3 separate regions of the Homo sapiens genome follow, and all the other regions are linked to region 1. Evidence: promoter capture Hi-C in 16 types of primary human blood cells and fetal thymus (Javierre and others, 2016). All regions are on one chromosome and are shown on one strand. Each heading gives the region's core, a stretch centred on a gene start or on the middle of the fragment in contact. The rest is flanking DNA. Distances are from core to core; before and after follow the strand shown. Region 1 holds the start of PAK4 (p21 (RAC1) activated kinase 4). Region 2 overlaps LRFN1 (leucine rich repeat and fibronectin type III domain containing 1). Region 3 overlaps SAMD4B (sterile alpha motif domain containing 4B).

The links. The method cuts DNA at HindIII sites, captures the fragments that hold promoters and counts their contacts. A CHiCAGO score of 5 or more calls a contact.
Region 2: a contact is called between a fragment that was not itself captured here and the fragment with the promoter of PAK4 in region 1, in 16 of 17 cell types (megakaryocytes, erythroblasts, endothelial precursors and 13 more). The highest score is 14.3, in megakaryocytes.
Region 3: a fragment that was not itself captured here is called in contact with the fragment with the promoter of PAK4 in region 1 in 16 of 17 cell types (fetal thymus, naive CD4 T cells, total CD8 T cells and 13 more); the score reaches 10.9 in fetal thymus.

Annotation. Positions count from the first base shown.
Region 1 is chr19:39,124,477-39,127,176 of GRCh38, forward strand. It overlaps PAK4 (p21 (RAC1) activated kinase 4), which reads left to right and starts at 1,310. Exons shown (of 10, transcript NM_005884.5): 1 at 1,310-1,443. The HindIII fragment of the contact is 5,933 bases long and covers 1-2,404 here.
Region 2 is chr19:39,305,694-39,308,393 of GRCh38, forward strand. It overlaps LRFN1 (leucine rich repeat and fibronectin type III domain containing 1), which reads right to left. Exons shown (of 5, transcript NM_020862.2): 5 at 873-2,700. The coding sequence ends at 1,940. Among named protein-coding and RNA genes, the nearest start is that of IFNL1, 11 kb to the left of the region's middle. RefSeq lists an enhancer at 2,134-2,635. The HindIII fragment of the contact is 8,108 bases long and covers 1-2,700 here.
Region 3 is chr19:39,347,335-39,350,091 of GRCh38, forward strand. The region is part of intron 1 of SAMD4B (sterile alpha motif domain containing 4B); the gene reads left to right. Among named protein-coding and RNA genes, the nearest start is that of SAMD4B, 6.3 kb to the left of the region's middle. The HindIII fragment of the contact is 3,053 bases long and covers 1-2,757 here.

The DNA.
Region 1 (2,700 bases), core at 60-2,559:
GTGAGAGGGATGTTTGCTGCTTTCCTTAGGGTGAGCGAGGGAATTAGTTCACAGAGAAAGTGACATCTGTGTAAAGCCCTGAAAAAAGGGAGGGAGAGATAAGGATACCTGGGGGAAGAGTATGTTCCAGGCAGAGGAACAACCAGTGCAAAGACTGTGAGGTGAGAGCGCACCTGACAAGAGTTCAGGAACAGCATGAAGGCTGGAGTCCAGTGAATAAGATCCAGGAGGAGAGATGTCTGGCCGGGCGCAGTGGCTCACGCCTGCAATCCCAGCACTTTGGGAGGCCGAGGCAGGAGTATAGTTTGAGCCCAGGAGTTCGAGACCAGCCTGGCCAACACAACAAAACTCTCTCTTTAAAAATAAAAGAAAAAGGCCAGCTTGGTGGCTCACACGTGTAATCCCAGCACTCTGGGAGGCCGAGGCGGATAGATCACCTGAGGTCAGGAGTTCGACCTGGCCAACATGGTGAAACGCTGTCTCTACTAAAAATACAAAAAATTAGCTGGGTGTGGTGGTGGACGCCTGTAATTCCAGCTACTCAGGAGGCTGAGGCAGGAGAATCTCTTGAACCCGGGAGGCGGAGGTTGCAGTGAGCTGAGATCGCGCCATTGCACTCCAGCCTGGGCAACAAGAGCGAAACTCTATCTCAAGACAAATAAATAAGTAAAAATAAAATTTAAAAAAATTTTTAAAGAAGATGTCTGCTGTTTGTTTTCAATATTTTGACCAATTACTTCGTAAAAACTTATTTAAAAATTGAAGAGCAAACAGTCTCAGGTTCCCGGGCTCAGACAGACCAGCGTTCAAAACTCATTACCTTCTTTCTATGATGCTAAGCCAGCTATTTCACCCTCTGAACCTCTGTTTCTTTATCTGTAAAATGGGTATTAATGATATTATACCACAGGGTTGTATATGCAGCGAGAAAATGCAAGTAAAACACTTATCCCGGTGCCTGCCTCCTAGTAAGTGCTTAAGAACTGTTTCTGCCCATTAACTCATTACTTTCTCCCAGCCCCTAACTCCTTCTGGGGGGGAAGTTAGAAAATCGGTATCACACGAAAACAGTCATTTCCCCTTTAAGGACCTCAGTGGGCCGGGAGCCAGCCTTCCCGCACCTTTTCCAAAATTTCCAATCCCCGCTTGGCATTTTCTGCCCGAAGGTCTCCGATTGGACGCTCTGTACCAATCGGAGGCTGGAGCGGGCCCTGAGAGGCGCCCGACTCCGCCCCCGCACTGGCCCTGCCCACTGCCCGGTCAGCCTCGTTGCTATGGGGACTGGTGGGCGGTGAGGGGGGAAAGCCCCGGATGTTCGTTGGGGATTCAACATGGCGGCGGGAGTGTCCGCGGTGGTGGCGGTGCAAGAGAGCTGAGGGAGGCGCGAGGGCGCGGAGTTCCAGGTCGAGCAGTTAGGCCGCGAGCGACTGCGGCGCCGAGCCGGTAGGATAAGGGGTCCGGCCAGGGGCTTGCGGTGGGCCGGGCGCTGGCGGCGGGACGGCGTTTCCGCGAGGAGGGGGGCGGGGCCGCCGGGGTCAAAGGTCACTGGTGGAGGGAAGGGTCGCGTCCGAGGGGTCGGGGGTTAACGCAGACTGGAGGGAGTTGTAGTGGAGGTCGGAGATCAAACCAGCGAAGGGGGCGTGGCGAAGGGGAGTGCAAAGTTTGAAATTCGAAGTGGGGGCGCGTTCGAGGGGTTCTGGGCGAGTCTCAAAAAAGGCAGGGTCAAAGTTAATAATTTGAGGGAAGGCTGCCCCCACGAGGGTCAGAGGTCACAGCCCCAGGGGCGCCAGGTTGGAGGTTTAAAGCTGCCCCTAGCGGAGCAGATGAATGAGTTTTAGGTTCGGGGGCGTCTTTTAGGGGTTCAAAGCTGGGGCGTGCCTAGAAGGTACAAAGGTGAGAATCTGACAGCGGGGCAGCTGTTTCCCAGAGTCAAAAATTAAAACCCAAGGAGGGCGTATTGCGGGGGACGGGGGGGGGGGGGGGGGCCGGGTCAGAGATGCTTCCTGGTGACAGGAGAAGGGGGAACCCTCCCACAAATAATAATGGCAAACACTCATGAAACACTATGGGCTAGACCCTCTTTTTAACGCTTTACTTGTATGAGCTTATTCAGTCCTCACTATAGTCTTAGGGGGTCTTAACCTGGTATTAAGAGGTTAAGTGATTTGCACAAGGTCACCCGATGCATAAGTTGTGCGCTGGGATTCTAACTCCGGAGTTCTGGCCCAGAGCCCTGCTCTGGCCGACCGCCTCTCAAATCATCATAATGTCGGTTAATGTTTAATGAGGGCTCACACTGTGCTCCACGCCCTGTGTGCCCGGTCGTATTTCACTCCTGCTGCAATCTTGTGAAGTGAGTGCTCAAGATGAACCTACTTTACAGACGGGAAAAATGAGGCTCAGAAGCTTCTGCTGAAGGCAGAGTTAGAATCGAAGCTGGGCCTGGGTGATTCCAGGGCTCCTGCCCCTGGTCGCCACATTGTCCGCTGCCAGCCATTAGGTCTCTCCTGGAAGCAGGGGGCTGGGCAGGGCTGGGCCACTCCCTGGGCGGATCGGATTGTCTGCTTGGTTTCCTTGGAAGGGTGTGATCTGGCAGGGAAGATTCCTGTGAGCCTATGGGAGTAGGGTGTTTGTAGGTGGTCTGGAGTCCGAGCAAGGGAGTCCGACGGGCTTCTGACTGGGGAGAGTGTCCCTGGGTGG
Region 2 (2,700 bases), core at 138-2,637, 180 kb after region 1:
CATCTCTCTGTGGTTCAGGTTCTTGTCTGTAAAATGGGACCAAGGATAGATCTACCCTACCCCACTGAGTTGTGAGGTCTCAGAGGGTGGAATGAATATTCAATAACTGCTCAGCAGTACAGTGCTCTAGTTGAGTATTAAAGGAGTTCAGGGAATGTCACCCCAAAATATGGCACCCTGGTATGCTGATTATTTTAAATTAAAGGCACTTAGAGATCCATAGATGCTGGAAGAGGCTTTCCTCCTATGTCTTCTTATCTGCCTAAAGATCAAAAAGAACACAAGTGCCTTCTGTCCTCTCCCTGACATTTCATTATCTTTAACAGGAAAAAAAGACAGAGAAATGTCTACACCTGGACGGACTTTGTCACAAGAAATTATCTGTCTGTCAGTCTCAAATTCCAGAGACATTTACAAGCTAAATTCTATCTCCTGGACCCATTTATTTTCCCCAAAATCATTTATTACCCCTCAAAATTGCCTTCCTTTCCCCATCTCCCCTCCTGTGAAGAAAGGTATATAAGTATATAAACCTCACTGGGTTATTGGGTAATCACTTTCCTGTGATTTTCCTAGTGCATGTTAAATACCCTCCATATTCCTTTTCTCTTGTTAATCTATTGTCAGCCCATTCCAGTGAAATTTCAGAGAGTGAAGGGGAAGCTGTCTTTTCACCCCTATAGTAGAGACTCAGAAGTTGGCCTGCCTGCCTTTTTAAATCCCAGTTTTACCACCTTGGGCCAGTTATTTAACTTTTCTGGGCCAAAATTCCCTCATCTGGAAAACAGGATAATAATACCGATATGTCCTGGTGTTGTGAGAATTAAATGACTTAAGTGCTTGGCACATAGTAAGTAAGTATTCACTAAGCGTTAGCTATTATGATCATTTTATTTTTGTGATTATTCCCCACCTCTAAGTCTCTCAGAGGATAAAAGCCTGTCTGCCAGTCTCCTCCGGCCCCAGTTAGTCATCTTCCCATCTTCCTTCAGTCTCACTTAGAGTCCTTATGCTGCAATCTAGGTCACCCTCCCCCAACACACACACACACACACACACACACACACACACACACACACTACACGCGGACACACATACAGACACACACACAGGTCAGCAGGGCCTCAGACACAGAAAAAAGTTTAATTCTGCTGCGGCGGAGGGTCCCGGCTCCGGTAGGGAGGGGGATTTGGTTTTGGATTTTGTTCGTGTGGGGATTTATTTGGGAGAGTCTGGTCCTTCCAGTGGGACCTGCCCGGGAGAATGAGTAAAGAGAAGAAATCAGGAGAGACAGGGAGACTAGACAAAACCAGGGAGGGCCGAGGGACAAGAGACGACAGGACAGAGAGAAAGGAGAGGCAAATAGGGAAAGACAGGCACTACAGAGAGACGACAAGAGGGCGGGATAGAGACAAACGAGGGAAACAGAGAAAGGGGGACCCCAAGCCAGACCCGACCGGACCAGGAATGTGCGTGGGGTGGGGTGGGAGGCTTTGGAGGCCGCCGCGGGACAGAATAGGATCTAGTCCAGCCAGATACAAGAAATGGGCCCCTCGCCCCGGCCCCGGGTGACGGGCTGGGGGAGGGGGCTCGTGTCTCAGTGCTGCAGTGTCAGGGGGCCCTGCCCCTCCCCGCGCTTCGCTGTGTAAGGCACCGGCTCCAGCGAGGTCCGCGAGCGCGCGAGGGGAGGGGTAGGAGGGGGGTCGAGGAGTCCATAGGGGAAGGGAGGCCGGCAGCCGGTCCCCGAACCCCGCCCTGGGCACGGGGGCGTGGCCTCGAGCCGCAGCCCGAGGCTGCCCCGCCCCCTCCCGGGGACAAGGGCGCGTCTCCACTCTGGTCCAATGTCTTGGCGCTGCGCTTTCTCCCAGTCCCGCCCCAGCGTCCGTGCGGCTGGGCGTTTGGTCTGCGGCACCCAGGCGTCCCGGCGCCCGCCCGCCGCTCACACGGTACTCTCCAGCATCCACTCGGTGCTGGTGAAAGCCAGGCACGCCCTGGCGGAGCCCAGCCCCAGGTCTCCATCCTCCCCGGCCGCGCCCCCTCCAGCCCCGTCCAGGTGCGGCGTGGACCGGTGGCGCTTTGTCCGCCGGGCGCGGCGCGGGTAACTGTGGCTCTGGAATAGTGCCCCGTAGTCCCCGTCGAACGAATAGCGCTGCTGCGGCCTCGGCCGGGCCGCGGCTCCCCCAGGAACTAGAGCTAGAGTAGGGGGCGCCGAGGTTGGTGGCTCCAGGGCGCCGGATCGGCTCCTTCGAGGGCCCACCGCGGCCCGAGACTCCTCCCCGGAAGTTTCCTCGGATGGCAGCAGGCACAGCGAGGTGGCCGAGCCGCCCAGAGAACGTCCAAGGACCACCTCCGGCTCCGCGGATGCCGTCTCGGCCTCCATGGCCTTGGCCTCGACGGCGACGGCGGGGGCAGCCTGGGACTCCACCTCGCGCAGCGCCTCGTAGTGGTCCTGGGCCGGCAGGGCCGGGGCCTGTGCCGCGCCTGTGCCTGCGCCGTTGGTCTGCGAGCACACGTGGCTGACCCGCGGGAGCGACCTGGAGCCCTTGACGCGGCGGCTGTCCCCGTCGCCATACACCTTATAGCGGATCATGAGCAGAACGATGAAGACGAGGACCGAGGCGACGATGACGCCCCCGATGGCGATGATCATGGTGCCGCCCAAGAAATGGGCCCTCAGCGGGCGGCAGGGCGCCGGATCCC
Region 3 (2,757 bases), core at 144-2,643, 220 kb after region 1:
TGTGAGATTATGCCAGAAGATCCTTAGAAACATATTTTGGGTTCTGTACCCTGCAACTCAGTCTCTGGCTTGCTGAGCCAAATAGGCCTGTGATTCCATCCGATGAACTTTCTGAGCAGTGATGGCAATCTCCCTCCCCACTGTCCCCCAGCCGCAGTCATTCTCTGCTCTGTGATTGTTTGGGTCTAGAGAGAGCTTGTGGCTGGTCTGACTCAACCACACTTTGCTTTGGGATATCACGGGTGATATGAGGTGATCAGCCTGGCTTGATGGTGGCCTCAGGGGAGCAGAATCCAGGAGTAATGGCAATACCCTCACCACAGTTTAAGGTTTCCAAGACACAGAACTTTGGAAGAGAGTTAAGTAGGATTGCTGTGAGTGGAGTTTTGTTTTGTTTGTTTTAGTGTAAACTTGTTGAATAGAAGCGGGTTCAGGGCAAGTTACAGAACAGCAGTGTATGGAGTATGCAAGTCTCAAATATCTCCAGCCTGCACTCATTCATTAATGCATGGAGGCACTATTCTAGGTACTGGAGACAGAGCAGTGAATAAAACATTCAAGGTCCTGAAATTCATGGAATTTATATTCTGATGGGGGGAGGAAACAAAAAAATCAGAGTGTGATTCATGCTGTGAAGGAAATAAAACAGTGTGAAAGAGAGGGTGGGAGTGGCCACTGTAGTAGACAGGGGGATCAGAAGAGGCCTCTTTTGGGAGGTGACAGTTGAGCCTGATAACCAGAAAGATGAGAAGGCACCAGTTGTGGGAAGATCTGGGAGTGGAACATTCTAATCTAAGCATTGTTACATGCAGAAAAAGGACCTCTGCAAGGTGGGGAAATTTATCACAGATATTTATTGAGGGCCTGCTATGTACCAGGTGCTATGCTAGGAATTGGAGATGTAGCAATGAATAATATAGCTACAGTCTTCCCTTCTCTCATGGATCTTACAGTCTAGGTGTTTTTGGAAGAGCTGCAGCCTTTGAAGAAACATCTCTTGATGATGATATCATAGACTCCTTCCTACTGGGCAGATGAGGCAGAATGGGGCACAGGTGAGCCCAGATCTGATTGATGAGAAGGAACCAACCTTGTGACGGTCCGGGGAAGAGCATTTCAGGCAGAGAGGTCAGCAGGTGCAAAAGCCCTGCCATATGTTCAGGGAATCGCAAGGACCAGTGTGGCTAAAGCCTAAGTGAGGGAGAGGGGTGAGGGTTGGAAAGGCTGACAGAAGCCAGATTACTTGCAGCCTAAGGGCCACAGTAAGGAGTTTCTATTTTCATTTAAGGGGATTGGGAAACTATTAGAAGGGAGTTTTTAAAAGCAAGACAGCGACATGATCTGATTAATTTTTTTAGAAAGCTCACTTTGGTTTCTGGGAGGAAAACAGAGGGTCAGGACAGAATCAGGAAGGAAAGTTAGGAGACAATCCATTTGTCCAGATGAGAAATGGTGACATGAATGTGGTGGTGGTGGTGGTAGTGAAGATGTAGAGAAGCAGATATATTTTGGGTGTACAGAAAACAGGACTTGATGATGGGATTAGAGAAAGAGAGGAATCTAGAATAATGATAATAGCCAAGTCATTTATGCCTCACAACTCTATGAGAGTAGGCACTATTATTATTTTCTGTCTTCCTTCTCAGTAGGTACTATTATTACACCCACATTACAGATGACAAAACAGGCATGGCAAGGTGAAATCACTTGCCCAAAATTACACAGGTAGTAAGTGGCAGGCTTATATTTCCAACCCGGCAGTCTGGTTCTAGAGCCACTTAGGTTTGGGGAAAGATAAGCAAGGCATGTGTAGCTGACATTAAGAAAAAAGAAATATCAAGACCTAATGACTGGGTCTTTGGGAAATGGAAGAAGTCAAAGATGACTCAAAAAAATGTCTCAGTTGTCCACAGAGAGGTGATGATTGAATCTACAGGAGTTAATTACATGCCTAAGTGAGAGAAAACAAGTGTAAAGAAGGGAAAGGAAGCAGAGAATAAACTTTTCGGGGGGAAGGGGTGTCAAGACATTTAGGAGTGGGAGGAAGAATGCTAGCTTCCTCTCTATTCCAGAGTTTACCGGAGCTCCCCATACTGTACTTATCTTCCAGGAGGCCCTGCCTGGCTTCTCCTCTCCTCTCCCTCCCTTCCCCAGCACCATTCATACAAAAAGCTCATTCTTTGCTAATGCAGTGGTGTACATGTTTTGTGTACGTATTTCAGGAGTTTCTGGAAATAATGGTTGATTCTTATAAGAGAAGTTGTGCTCCCTTGGCTTCTGACAGTCTCTTCTCAGGTTATGAAAGTGAGTTAACCCTAGGTAACTAGCCTGTTACCTTGTTCATGAAGTGTAAGTTCTCAAAGGCCTAGGTCGTGCTGTAAAAAGAACTAGGAATGGGTAAGAAGGCAGATAGGATCCCCTTATTCATCCAGAGATGTTGGTATTAAAGGGCCCTTAGGCCCAACTTTCACCTTGTTGCCCAGGCTGGTCTCAAACTCCTGGGCTCAAGCGATCTGCCCACCTCAGTCTCCCGAAGTGCTGGGATTACAGATGTGAGCCACCATGCCCAGCTTTCTTGCATTGTTAAGAGCAAGCAAGAGCTCTGAAGCCAGACTGCCTGGCCTTGAAAATCTCAGCTTGGTGTACAGTCTTGGGCAAAGTGACTTAACTTCTCTGTGCCTCAGTTGCTCCATCTGTAAAATGATAATATATTCATATATGTATGTTATATATTTTTGAAATAGAGTTTTGGGGATC